Linked DNA regions of Homo sapiens: regions 2 and 3 are each linked to region 1. Evidence: promoter capture Hi-C in 16 types of primary human blood cells and fetal thymus (Javierre and others, 2016). All regions are on one chromosome and are shown on one strand. The core of a region is centred on a gene start or on the middle of the fragment in contact, and the rest is flanking DNA. Distances in the headings are between cores, read along the strand shown.

Region 1 (4,322 bases), core at 1,663-4,162:
ACCATCCTGGCTAACACGGTGAAACCCCGTCTCCACTAAAAATACAAAAAAAATTGGCTGGGCTTGGTGGCACGCACCTGTAATCCCAGCTACTTGGGAGACTGAGGCAGGAGAATCGCTTGAACCCGGGAGGCGGAGGTTGCAGTGAGCCGAGATGGCACCACTGCACTCCACCCTGGACGTCAGAGCAAGACTCTGTCTCAAAAAAATAATAAAAAAAAAAATTAGCTGGCTGAGGCAGTGCATGCCTGTAAACCCAGTTACTTGGGAGGCTGAAGCATGAGAATTGCTTGAACCCAGGAGGCAGAGGTTGCAGCAAGCCGAGATCATACCACTGCACTCCAGTCTGGGTGACAGAGCGAGACCGTCTCAAGAAAAAAAAAAAAACAACATAAAGTGAAATCACTTCTGCATGTTCCCCAGGCACAGGAACAGCATATTCATTTTTGTAGACCTGTCTTACAGGATAGTATTTGGTATAGGTTATGTGCTCAGTTTATCTTTTAATAAATGTATTAAAAGTGCACTTAGGGCCAGGCACAGTGGCTCATGCCTGTAATCCCAGCAATTTAGGAGGCTGAGGTGGGCAGATCACCTGAGGTCAGGAGTTCAAGACCAGCCTGGCCAACACGGTGAAACCCCGTCTCTATCAAAAATACAAAAAATTATCTAGGCAAGGTGGTGGCATGCACCTGTAATCCCAGGCACTCGAGAGGGTGAGGCACGAGAATTGCTTGAACCAGAGAGGCAGAGATTGCAGTGAGCTGGGATTGCGCCACTGCACTCCAGGCTGGGGGACAGAGTAAGACTGTCTCCAAAAAAAACAAAAAAAAAGTGCACTTGAGACCTTCAAAAAAAAAAGTTTATTTGTATAGTTTAAAAGTCCTCAGCCAGGCACAGGGGCTCATATCTGTAGTCCCAGCACTTGGAGAGGCTGAGGCAGGATGACCGCTTGAGGCAGAGAGTTCAAGACCAGACTGGATAACATAGATTGATCTTTTCTCTACAAAAATTAAAATTAGCTGGGTGTGGTGCTGCACATCAGTAATCCCAGCTACTTGGGATGCTGAGGTGAGAGGACTGCTTGAGCCTAGGAGCACAAGGCTTCAGTGAGCCATGATCACTTTACTGAACTCCAGCCTGGGCAACAAAGTCAGACCTTGTCTCAAAAAAAAAAAAAAAAAAAAAAAAAAAATGCCTGTAAGCATCCCTTCAGCAATTTTGTCTTTCCATGAAGAGGAAAGACAGATTCCAGAGTTCAATGCCAAGTTTTAAAATGGCCTTGATTACAGTTACAAGTTCAAAAGTCTAACAATCAATAATTTATAGTGGACAGTTAAGAATACTTAATAATGTGCAACTGGGAGAATATCGACTTACTATAGACAAACAGTGTATTTCGACCGTTTATGAACTTTAGCCCTCTCCTATATTTCTAGTAATATTTAGCAATACAATACATGTTTAAAACAAAATCTTGGAAAACAGGACTCAAAGGAAAAAAAACACCTATAAACCTACTTCCAAGAAAAAAACCACTCTTAACGTTGTCATTCGGTTTTTGGTATTTATGCCTTAGTTACCTATTATTTTTTACCAAAATGTTAACAAACCACATATATTATTCTACAGCCTGTGTTTTAGTGAAGGTTCTTCCAAGTCAACATTCTTCCTCATGATGTTTGATGACTTGATAGTAATCTATCATATAGATACACCACAATTTACTTATCTTGGGAATTTTGGTAGGATATTAACATTTGAGGTATTTTGTACATTCCCAAAGCCAAAGAAAGCGGTCAAGGCCCTTCCATTCATCCACACATAAACTCTTTATTGTTTTAATTTGAAACACCTCTTCAAAACATATTTTCCAATCTTCCATTTTGGAGCTCAAAATCAAATATGGGCGACCTGTAAGTAATAAAGCAAAAATTATGCTACTCTTTTATGTGCATGAGTCCAATTTGCACTTTTTGGGGAAAAGCACATAGCCAAATGGAGAAAAAAATAATACCTAAAATTATTTGTCAAGAATCCTGTGTTGGAAAGTAAGTTAATTAAAACAATTCACCCCAACATACGCTTCTATAATTATTGTAAGAATTTCTATATCCACTATACCGTGTACTTATTTTTCAGGGCTTTTTCTATATTTTTGCAACTCTTTCTTCCCCTTTAAATTAAAACTTATTATAATAACAAAACTGTGCTTCCCCAAACCAAGAAATATACACAGTTCCCAAAATCCCGGATTCTTTGTGGTGTTGAGAAGCTGAAATATCTGGCCTCTACTATAAATACAAGTCCCATTGATTAAAATACCCGGAAAAAATACGGAAAGAAAATCACTAAGAGTTTGTGTCGAACCGTCAAGAAACCACAACAAAAAAAAGAGGCCCTGAGCAACGGAGGAAATGAAGGACTTTCCCGACCTGTCACTGGTATTGGGGACTGAGGGAAACGTTGACAGCTTTGAAGCTGCCCCGCGACGAGCGGGAAAGAGGAGCGCGGGGAGTTTCCGACCCGTAGTGCGCCTTTGTCCCTGCCGGCAGGTGCGACAAGGCTACTGGGCCCATCCGGAGGCCAGCCGCCGCGCCCCGCCCAACCCCGCGCGCCCGGCCCGACCCGCGCGTCCCCACGGCCGGGGCGGGGCTTCCGCCGCGGCTCCCGCCCGCCCGGGCCCACACAAAGGCCCGGCAGCTGACCAAGGGGGAGCGGCCCCACCCGCCCTGGGCCCGGCCTTACCCAGCCGCTCCGCCGCCTGCAGCCCCGGCCGCGGTCACCGACCGCCGCGCCCCGCCCCGTGGCCGCCACGGCTGCTGCTATTGCTCCTCCGGCCGCGGCCGCTGCCGTCGCTTCGGCACCCGCCGCCCTCACCTCCCTTACCCCTCCCGGTGCCGCCGCAAAACCAGTCCCGCGGCCGCCAAGCGATCCCTGCTCCGCGCGACACTGCGTGCCCGCGCACGCAGAGAGGCGGTGACGCACTTTACGGCGGCAGCGTAAGTGCGTGACGCTCGTCAGTGGCTTCAGTTCACACGTGGCGCCAGCGGAGGCAGGTTGATGTGTTTGTGCTTCCTTCTACAGCCAATATGAAAAGGCCTAGTAAGTGGGGTCGGGAGGCGGGCGTGGAGGGACCCACGTCTGGAAGTTGCTGCAGCCACCACGACGCTCTTCTACGGCTACGGCTTTGTCTCTGCTGGTATGGGGGTGGGAGCCTACGCGTAGGCCTTGGCCCTATTTCCTGGTAGAACCGAGAGTTGGAAGTCCCTACGGCGATCATGTTAACCGCGCGGGCTCATTCTGCGGAACGAAGCCGGGCAGAGGGTGGGGAAGACTAGGCTAGATTTTCGTAAGGAAGCAGCGTCTGAGCCAGGTTTGAGGCCCAATATTTTCTTTCCGTGGCCACGTGCAGACTGGCCCAGGTGAGAGCTGAGAATCGCCTCCCAGACTCAGTGTTCCTCTCCTGCCTTATGATTCGTGCTGTTTGACACGAAGTGGTTGTCGTTTTGTGTCTCATACGCTGTTGTGTATGATCCCATTCTAATATTGTGAGGGTAAGTGCAGGGAATTTTGACTCCATTCTGGATCTACTGAATTTAATTCTCTGGGATTTGAAAGTAGCACGTATGTTTGCATTAGGCATTTCGCATTAGACTTAACGTTAGGTTTGGTAGCCAATAACACAAGAAAAGGATATAACTCCATAGTGCGTTAACCCAGAACTAATCATTTGGGTTAACAGATTTGTGATGTGTTTCTTTGTAGAGTTAAAGAAAGCAAGTAAACGCATGACCTGCCATAAGCGGTATAAAATCCAAAAAAAGGTAAGTGTAGTGCTTGAGAGAGCTGTACCAAACACATTGCTAAACTGATTTTGCCCTGTTCCTTTGCGGGAAAGTCTGGGTTAATGTGATTTGGTTTTGGGAAATGGCATTGGATAGACTGACCATGGGCACAAGCTCTTAGGCATCAGGAGTGCAGCTGTGAGAAAGTGCAGTGATTTGGTGATAAGTCTCTAAATTTGTTCAGCATGTTAATCTCTGCATAGAGAGCCTTCTAGTTACAATTTCTTGCTGTTTTATACTTACATATGCATTACTTTGTAAGATTCCAATTAAAGCTCCATTTTCCTAGGACATTTTATAGGCATAACTAAATTGCAGCCAGATTGGTTTCTCACTTGAATTCTGCTTAAGTATAAAGATATTTTTGTAAGCAGACAAAATCTCTTTATTTTAATAGGTTCGAGAACATCATCGAAAATTAAGAAAGGAGGCTAAAAAGCGGGGTCACAAGAAGCCTAGGAAAGACCCAGGAGT
Region 2 (4,274 bases), core at 86-2,585, 390 kb after region 1:
TTTCTGTGACTTTCTGCAGGGCACTGGTTGCCCTCAGGATAATTTGTAATTAAATAGCAAGAAATACATAAAATACATAATATCAGGAGATAAAATCACTTATCAGGAAAAATAACACATGGTATAGAATATTTTAAACTTGGCCAGGCACAGTGGCTCACGCCTGTAATCCCAGTACTTTAGGAGGTCGAGGTGGGAGGATCAAGAGTGTGAGACTAGCCTGGGCAACATAGTGAGACCCCATCTCTACTAATAATTTTTAAAAAATTAGTCGGGTATGGTGGCTCATGCCTGTGGTCCCAGCTACTCCAGAGGCTGAGGCTAGAGGATCACTTGAGCCCTGGAGATTGAGGCTGCAGTAAGCTATGATTGCATCACTGCACTCCAGCCCAGGCAGCAGCTCCAGATCCTGTTTCAAAAAAAGGAATATTTTAATCTCCACCGTGACCTCTGTGCTGGACTAGCTCCCCTGCAGGACCCAGGCTCCAGCCTTGGTATGCACAGGCCCACTGGCTCTCCAACTCTCCATTCCACCCCAAAGAACTGCTGAACCCCAACTTTTCCTTGGCCCCACAATGGCCCTGGAGCAAGAGTGAGCAGGGATTATTAGAACCTTCTGCAGATGGAGAAAAGGCAAAGCTACCTGCTAGATCTCACAAGGAGTAAAAGGCAGGGCTGGGATCGGAATACAGTTCCGGGCTCTCCAGCTCTGTTGATTGTCTGGATCAACAGCAGGTCCTCTGGCCCAGTGGGCAGTGGGGATGTGGTAAAACATCATTTCCAAGCTTCAAAGGCAACCAGGACTCCTGCACAGTTGAAGGGAATGTCCCACAGACGCTGATAGAAATGAGGGAGGCCTTTAGCAGTGGGCTGTCGGATCAGAACCAGGTACACTCAGGTCACGGCTCTTTGACAATGAGAAGGAGGAAGAGGAAGGCCTGATGGATCCCCACTACTCAGATATGACCCACACCCCAAATGTCCATGGCCTCACACCTTCCCCAAGGATCAGCGCTGGGCCCAGACACATCTGGTGTCTCCCTGATGTCCACAAGTCTGTAGGCAGAACACTCTTCCCTTCCCAGGAAAACTCCACCTTATCAATAGTGTTCAGGACAGCACCCTAGGCTGGGCACAGTGGCTCACATGTGTAATCCCAGCACTTTGGGAGGCTGAGACGAGTGGATCACCTGAGGTCAGGAGTTCGAGACCAGTCTGGCCAACAGGGCAAAACCCTGTCTCTAGTAAAAATAGAAAAATTAGCTGGGCATGGTGGTGGGCGCCTGTAATCCCAGCTACTTGAGAGGCTGAGGCAGGAGAATCGCAGAGGTTGCAGTGAGCCTAGATCGCACTACTGCACACCAGCCTGGGCAACAGACCACGACTCTGTCAAAAGAAAAAGACAGCACCCTCTGGGCATCCTAAATTCAAAGCTGCTTCTGGCAGGAGAAACCAGTCCATCTTAACCTGGCATCCTACATCCCAGTGAAGTAAAAAAAACAACAAAGCAAATCAGTGTTTGCAACAAAACAAAACTCAGCAAGTTTCTGGATCAGCCTGTGATGAGTGGGTTCAAGGTGAGGACATTGGCAATTGGTGGGTGAGGCCATGTGGGGGTGCAGGGGTGTCCTCGTGGGCCACCGTGGCCCGGGCCTTGGAAAGCCGAGACCAGGAGAGCTCATGCCTGTGGCCACCCAACACATGGCAGGGCCCATTCATGCCTTTCCACTTTCTTCAGAAACTGCCACAGCAGCTGTCCCTCCCTGGACAAAGCCACCTTCTTTCCTGACGCCAGGGCCCCATTTTCTTTCTGTCTTAATCTAAGGCTGATGGGAAATATAAACAACTAGCTGAGGCAATTTCTGAAATTGGTGGAAATCATTTAACAAGCTTCTGGAGCATCCCTTCTTGTCCTGGGGAGGTGTGCGGAATGTGTGTCTGAAAGAGCATTTGCTGGCAGCCATGGCGTTTCTTCCCCGGGCCTAGTCACTGGGGTTTCCAAGGCTAAGGACACCTCAAATCCACATCCAGATGCCTGGCTCTGCACAGTCTCCCTGCCTGACACCCTTACCCGCCAAAGCTCCTGCAGGGCCAGCTGGGCCTAAAAGCAGTTTTCGTTTCTTCTTCACCTGCAGCTTCGTCTTTCAGGAGAGGGTAAAGCAATGTTTCCATTGGAATTTTAAAAGATGCTCCACCACCACGTGCACTTCTGTGGACTGGGGTTAGGTGGGAGGAGGAAGCAGTAGTGGGGAAACAAACGATTCCAGGGACCACAGTCCCTCTGTAACCTTGTGTTGGGCAGATTTAAAATTCCACTCGTTCAAGTCCACTAGGCTAGAGCTAGGCATCCCTGTCTAGTGCTTTACCTACCTCCTCTCACTCCTTACTACACCCTATGAGGCAAGTGCTATTGTGCCCATTTTTAGATGAGTAAACTGAGGCACAGGGGGATCAAGCACTTTGCTCAAAGATTCACAGCTTGAAGGGGGTAGGGTAGCAGGGTAGCTGGGCTGGGTCCAGTGACTAGGCCTGGGGAAGCAAAGCCACAGCTGCCTCAAAGCCCTCTCTGGACACGTTTCCCTCCCCGCCAAACTCCTGGCCCCACCACACACACCTGCCTTTCTAATTCTCAAGGGAGAAAGAATATAGGGCTGTTGCAAGAAAGGACGAGGAGCCTGATGGGGACAGAGCAGCCTAGGGGGGTCATAAGAACAGGGCCACCAGGCCTGACACAGGCGAGTGCCTCCCTGGCTGGGGCATGGGGAGAGGTGTGAGGATGAGGCTGGGCAGTGCTGGTTCCAGGGCTCCTGAGGACATCATAAGAACCAGCCCAAATGAAGCCAAGGGAAAGAAACGGTGACCTGAGTTCATCAACGCCATGCATTCTAGGCCAGGTGCCTTCTGCAGGTAATGGGGCTAAAGGAAAAGCCATTAAATCATGAGTATTTATAATGCCCTCGCCCTCCCTCCTTTGCTGGCTCAGCCACAGCAGGCCTTTGAGCTGGATCATTAGGGGTGAGGGTGGAGAGGAGCAGAGCCTGGCACAGCCATAGAGGTGAGGTGCAGGGTGTAGGGAGAGAACTACCTCGGCACGGGGATTGGAAGAGGAAAGAAGGGTGGATGTGGGTCAAGTGGACACCCAGGAAGCCTTGCTGCGGCTTGGGGTTTCCAAGGCTTTTGGAGCTGAATTTGCCTCCCATTTCTGTTCTCCTTTCATCTTTCCTGGACCACGTAAGGTGGGTGACAGATGAGGAAACTGAGGCACAGAGAGGCAAGATCTCCTGCCCATGGTTCCAAAGTGAGGAATTAGACCCGAGAGGCCAAAAGTGAGGTGCCTTCCCACTCCTTGGTGGTGCTGCCCAGGGTCAAAGCCCCAACAGTCAGGGACCCTGGGATATACAAAACCTTTTCTTTGTAATGTACCATAATTTTTTTGGGCCAGATTTATTTCTCCCAAATATTTCTTATCATGCCAATGTTTGTGCGAAACAATTACCCTAAATTCCTTAAGATGGGATGAAGACAGAGGCAGGGGAGGAACTGTAGAGAAAAATAAGCCATGGAAGGTCAGGGATGGATTGAAAACAAATCCTGTGGGTTCCAAACTTGCTGGATTTTTAGTTTTGTTTTGTTTTTGAAACAGAGTCTCACTCTGTCACCCAGGCTGGAGTGCAGCGGTGTGATCATGGCTTATTGCAGCCTCGACTTCCCGGGCTCCAGTGATCTTCCCGCCTCAGCCTCCTGAGTAGCTGGGACCACAGGCGAGAGCCACCACGCCCAGCTAATTTTTTATTATTTATAGAAACAGAATCTCCCTATGTGGCCCAGGCTGGTCTCAAACTCCTGGGCTCTAATAGAGGGAGGAACTTGGCCAGCCGTGGTGGCTCATGCCTGTAATTCTAGCACTTTGGGAGGCCAAGGTGGGTGGGTTGCTTGAGGCCAGGAGTTCAAAACCAGCCTGACCACATGCAAAACCCCATCTCTACTAAACATACAAAAATTAGTTGAGTGTGGTGGTGCACACCTGTAATCCCAGCTACTCAGGAGGCTGAGGCAGGAGAATTGCTTGAACCTGGGAGGTGGAGGTTGCAGTGAGCTGAGATCGTGCCACTGCACTCCAGCCTGGGTGATAGAGCAAGACTGTCGCAAAAAAAGTAAAATGAAATAATAATAACAATAATGATAATAATAATAATAGAGGGGGGAAATTAGCCCAGAGCTAAAGGGGGCTGTGTAATCAGACAGTCCAGGGGTTGACCCCAGTTGTGTGGCTC
Region 3 (4,231 bases), core at 906-3,405, 490 kb before region 1:
CAGCACCCGCTTCTCTTCTGGAAGCCTTCCTCGTGGTTGGGATCCTCCTCTTTCAGCGCCTGTTGGAGTAATAGCCTCCTCCTCTTCCTCCATCTGGAGTTGCTTACAACACTCTATTTCACTTTCCATGTGAGTCGGCCTTGTTTCCCAATCTTTCTCTATATTAAACAGGAAACTCCCAGAGGGCTAGGGACTGGCTGGTTTAAACAATAAGCCTCTGAAATACAGGACTTCACCTGACCCTCCTGCCAGCCACAAGTGGCAGGGCGGGAGAGCTTTACAAATCAGGAAACCAAGCCTTGAAGAGGTTGTGGCCTGCCCAAGTCTATGGCCAAGTAAGATTCAGAGCTGGGTTTGAAACCCATGCCCAACTCCACTATCCAGTTCTTTCTGCTTTGGCTTTGGCTCTGATCACCCCCAAAAAAACCCTATGAGGGCCAGGCGCAGTGGCTCAAGCCTATAATCCCAGAACTTTGGGAAGCTGAGGGTGATCACTTGAGGTCAGGAGTTCAAGACCAGCCTGGCCATCATGGTGAAACCCCATCTCTACTAAAAATACAAAAATTAGCTGGGCGTGGTGGTGTAATCCCAGCTGCTCAGGAGGCTGAGGCAGAAGAATCGCTTGAACCTGGGAGGCAGAGGTTGCAGTGAGCCGAGATTGTGCCACTGCACTCCGGCCTGGGCAACAGAGGGAGACTCTGTCTCAAACAAACAAACAAAATAACAACAACAACAAAAACAACCTGTGAGGCAGGCATTTCAGGGATTATGATCCTATTGCCCAGATAAGGAAAGCAAGGCCCAAAGATGAGCAAAGCACTCAATATCATCCTTATTCTGTTCCCACTTCCAGCTGCACTTGGGTCCAAGTCCAAGTGCTGACCTTTTCTCTCTCATCTTCTCTGGGTGATGGGCACTGCCCAGGATCTCTTGGCTGAATGGCACAGAACTGGGTCTCGAGCTCTCAGACCAAAGCCCTCATCCTGGACTGGTCCCACTGCCACTCTGAACCCAGGTGCCTCCTCTGAAGGTGGAGACTCACCTCACCTGCCTTGCAGCCAGCTGGGTGCTCAGAGACAGAAATGCAAAGTACCTGGACACACCCTGGTCACCATCATTCTGGACTTTGTCCCTCTTGTTAATGCTCAGCTGGGAAAGGAATACCCTCAAAGGCCCTTTCCTCAAGAATGGAGGAGAGTACCTCTGAGCCTGGCACAGGCCCAGCCCAACACAGCCCAAGCCAAGCTGGGAAGGGTGTGGGGCAAGGAAGCCAGACTGACATTCCTGAGACGGGTTTGCCAAGCCCTACACTTTATGTGTTGTACCCGGGAAACTCAATGGAGGTATGGCCCAACGCTGACCTTTGGCATGGAGGCCTAAGCCACCCTGCTGGTGCCCAGGGTGGCCAGCAAGGGGCTTCAGACAACCCTGGATGGAAAATAAAAATAGTGGCTAATATTTGTTACACGCTAACTATTGTCAGGCCCTGTGCCTTCCCCTCCTCCCCAAGTGCTCAGAGCTGTGGAGTGGATGGGTTCCACCCTAGCCCTGTTCCTCTGTCCCCTCTGGATCATCTTAGACCAGAAAGTGCCACAGCTGAGTGTCCCGCTTCTTCCGCATCCTGCCAGGACCACTCCATTTGTGGGCGATATAGCCAGCTCCACCTCCTCCGGGAAGCCCTTGTTCACAGTTTCCAAAGCAAGCCGCAGGCGGGATGGATCCTGCTTAACACCCCGGCCCAGAACCCCTTGGATCTCCTTCTTCCTCCATGTCCAAGACACCCAGCTTAACAACCCTGTAGCCCCCAACTTGGCCCTAGCGGCACCTCGCCTCGACCTTGCCATTTTATACTCAATTGGGGCGTAGGGTTCTGAAGCCCAGGGTAGTTGGTGGGGAGGCAGCACGAGGGTGCAGGATGAGGTCGGGAAAAGAGACCTCGTCCGCCCACCGCCTAGCGCTTCCTCCTCCCTGCAGGCGAGCCGGGGAATCCCCGGCAGCACCGATATCCGCAGAGCCCAAGAAGTGGGCCTCTCTGCCCCGCCCCCCCGGCTCGCCGAGGGCTACGCGGCGCGCCTGCGCAGAAGAAGGCAGCGCCCAAGGCGCATGCGCAGCGGTCACTCCCGCTGTATATTAAGGCGCCGGCGATCGCGGCCTGAGGCTGCTCCCGGACAAGGGCAACGAGCGTTTCGTTTGGACTTCTCGACTTGAGTGCCCGCCTCCTTCGCCGCCGCCTCTGCAGTCCTCAGCGCAGGTGAGGGCCCGCGCGGTAGGTGCGGCGCCGGCCGAGGAAGCCCCGGGGTGTCCTGCCAGCCGTGGCACCGCTGCCCCGGGTGCTGGGACCCCATCCCCCACTGTCCCAGTCACCCGCCGCCTTGAGGTCAGCGTTTATCCTCCAGATCTTTTGCCTAGACGGCCGCCTCAGTTTCCCCCTTTCGGCCCCTTCCGGCTATTCCCGGTTGAACCCGCCGCTTTAGAATTCCCTTCTCATACCCCTCCCGTCATTCTCGAGACCTCGACCGCGGGTCACCTCTGACCCCCACTGCCGGAGGACTGCCTTCTTTCTCCAGACTCAACTCCCTCGACTTTATAAGCCCCTGCGCGTCCCCAGTGAGGCCCAAGGCGCTGGCCCTCATACCCCTACCCTCATTTGTGCCCCTCCTTTCTCAGTTATGCCCAGTTCTTCCCGCTGTGGGGACACGACCACGGAGGAATCCTTGCTTCAGGGACTCGGGACCCTGCTGGACCCCTTCCTCGGGTTTAGGGGATGTGGGGACCAGGAGAAAGTCAGGATCCCTAAGAGTCTTCCCTGCCTGGATGGATGAGTGGCTTCTTCTCCACCTAGATGTAAGCCAAGATGTCTTATCTGCACTGTGCATCTCCCTAAGAAACCTCTGGCCTCCCAAACCTGTTCTTGACCTTTCCCTCATCCTTCCGCCCCCTTGATTATGTACTGTCAGTATTCATTTGGTGAAGTTGCTTTGCAGGTGCCTTTGTGTAGCGCTGGAGAATGAAGAAGTTGGTGACCCGGGTAAAGTGTGGTCACCATTCCTTAGCTCACATCAGTGCTGTCCTTAGGCATTTTTGAGGGAGAAGTGTTAGTATTCCAGGGTACCCTTTATATAAACTGCGGTTGACACCTGAATCCAGTGAGCTTGCAGTGATATTTGCCTGATTATTAACAACTGTTGATGTCACTCTTCATCAGTCTTTCCACAGGAGCCAGCATACTTCCTGAACATGGAGAGTGTTGTTCGCCGCTGCCCATTCTTATCCCGAGTCCCCCAGGCCTTTCTGCAGAAAGCAGGCAAATCTCTGTTGTTCTATGCCCAAAACTGCCCCAAGATGATGGAAGTTGGGGCCAAGCCAGCCCCTCGGGCATTGTCCACTGCAGCAGTACACTACCAACAGATCAAAGAAACCCCTCCGGCCAGTGAGAGTAAGTGTCATTGACAATGAAGGAGCAGGTATGGGTGTTTGTGCTCATTGGTAGACTAGAAGCAGTCCCCACAGTGGTGGTGAGGGTCACACTCACTCACAGAGGGCTGCTATGTGCAGGCTGGGCTCTGAGCACAGATTATCTCATATGATTGTCCCCCCAAGGGTAGGCACTTTTAGCTTTTCCATCTTTAAAGGTGAAACAGTGGCCAGTGTTGCACATTACAGGTTTTTGGATTGCACGTTAGTGTCTATAGGGGTTTTAGTGTTTCCTCAGTGCCTCGTTCACATAAATATTAAATTGGAATGTTCTAATTTCCCTCATTAAACATTTAGCCTTCTAATTTCCCTCATTAAACATTTGGCCTTCGGCTTTTTATTTATTTAATTTTTCTTTTTTGAGACTGAGTCTTGCTCTGTCGCCCAGGTTGGAGTGCAGTGATGCAGTCTCGGCTTACTGCAACCTCCACCTCCCAGGTTCAAGTGATTCTCCTGCCTCAGCCTTCCAAGTATCTGGAATTACAGGCATGCACCACCACGCCCAGATAATTTTTGTACTTTTAGTAGGGTTTCACCTTGTTGGTCCGGCTGGTCTCAAACTCCTGACCTCAAATGATCCACCTGCCTCAGCCTCCCAGAGTGCTGGGATTGCAGGCGTGAGCCACCGTGCCCGGCCCCTTTGGCTTTTTAAAGTAGTGATTTTTTTTTTCTTAAAAGTTTTTGTTCTGTTGTGGTAAAATGCCCAAGAAAAATTACCATTTTAAGCACTTAAAAATGTGCAGTTCAGTGGTACATT

What was found. Contacts are between HindIII fragments. The CHiCAGO score rates a contact against its expected background, and 5 or more counts as called.
Region 2: a contact is called between a fragment that was not itself captured here and the fragment with the promoter of PBRM1 in region 1, in 1 of 17 cell types (naive CD8 T cells). The highest score is 6.9, in naive CD8 T cells.
Region 3: the fragment with the promoter of ALAS1 here is called in contact with the fragment with the promoter of PBRM1 in region 1 in 5 of 17 cell types (activated CD4 T cells, neutrophils, total B cells and 2 more); the score reaches 9.7 in activated CD4 T cells.

What each region holds. Positions count from the first base shown.
Region 1 is chr3:52,683,001-52,687,322 of GRCh38, forward strand. It overlaps PBRM1 (polybromo 1), which reads right to left and starts at 2,913. Exons shown (of 32, transcript NM_001405607.1): 1 at 2,749-2,913. GNL3 (G protein nucleolar 3) reads left to right here and starts at 3,032. Exons shown (of 15, transcript NM_014366.5): 1 at 3,032-3,105; 2 at 3,769-3,827; 3 at 4,246-4,322. The coding sequence starts at 3,093. RefSeq lists silencers at 2,500-2,649, 2,720-2,869 and enhancers at 2,507-3,195, 3,190-3,259. The HindIII fragment of the contact is 13,677 bases long and covers 1-4,322 here.
Region 2 is chr3:53,078,326-53,082,599 of GRCh38, forward strand. It overlaps a transcript of RFT1 not described here. Among named protein-coding and RNA genes, the nearest start is that of SFMBT1, 34 kb to the left of the region's middle. The HindIII fragment of the contact is 1,105 bases long and covers 784-1,888 here.
Region 3 is chr3:52,196,005-52,200,235 of GRCh38, forward strand. It overlaps ALAS1 (5'-aminolevulinate synthase 1), which reads left to right and starts at 2,156. Exons shown (of 12, transcript NM_000688.6): 1 at 2,156-2,251; 2 at 2,668-2,844; 3 at 3,206-3,436. The coding sequence starts at 3,238. RefSeq lists enhancers at 1,698-1,767, 1,778-1,997 and silencers at 2,138-2,207, 2,318-2,397. The HindIII fragment of the contact is 12,746 bases long and covers 1-4,231 here.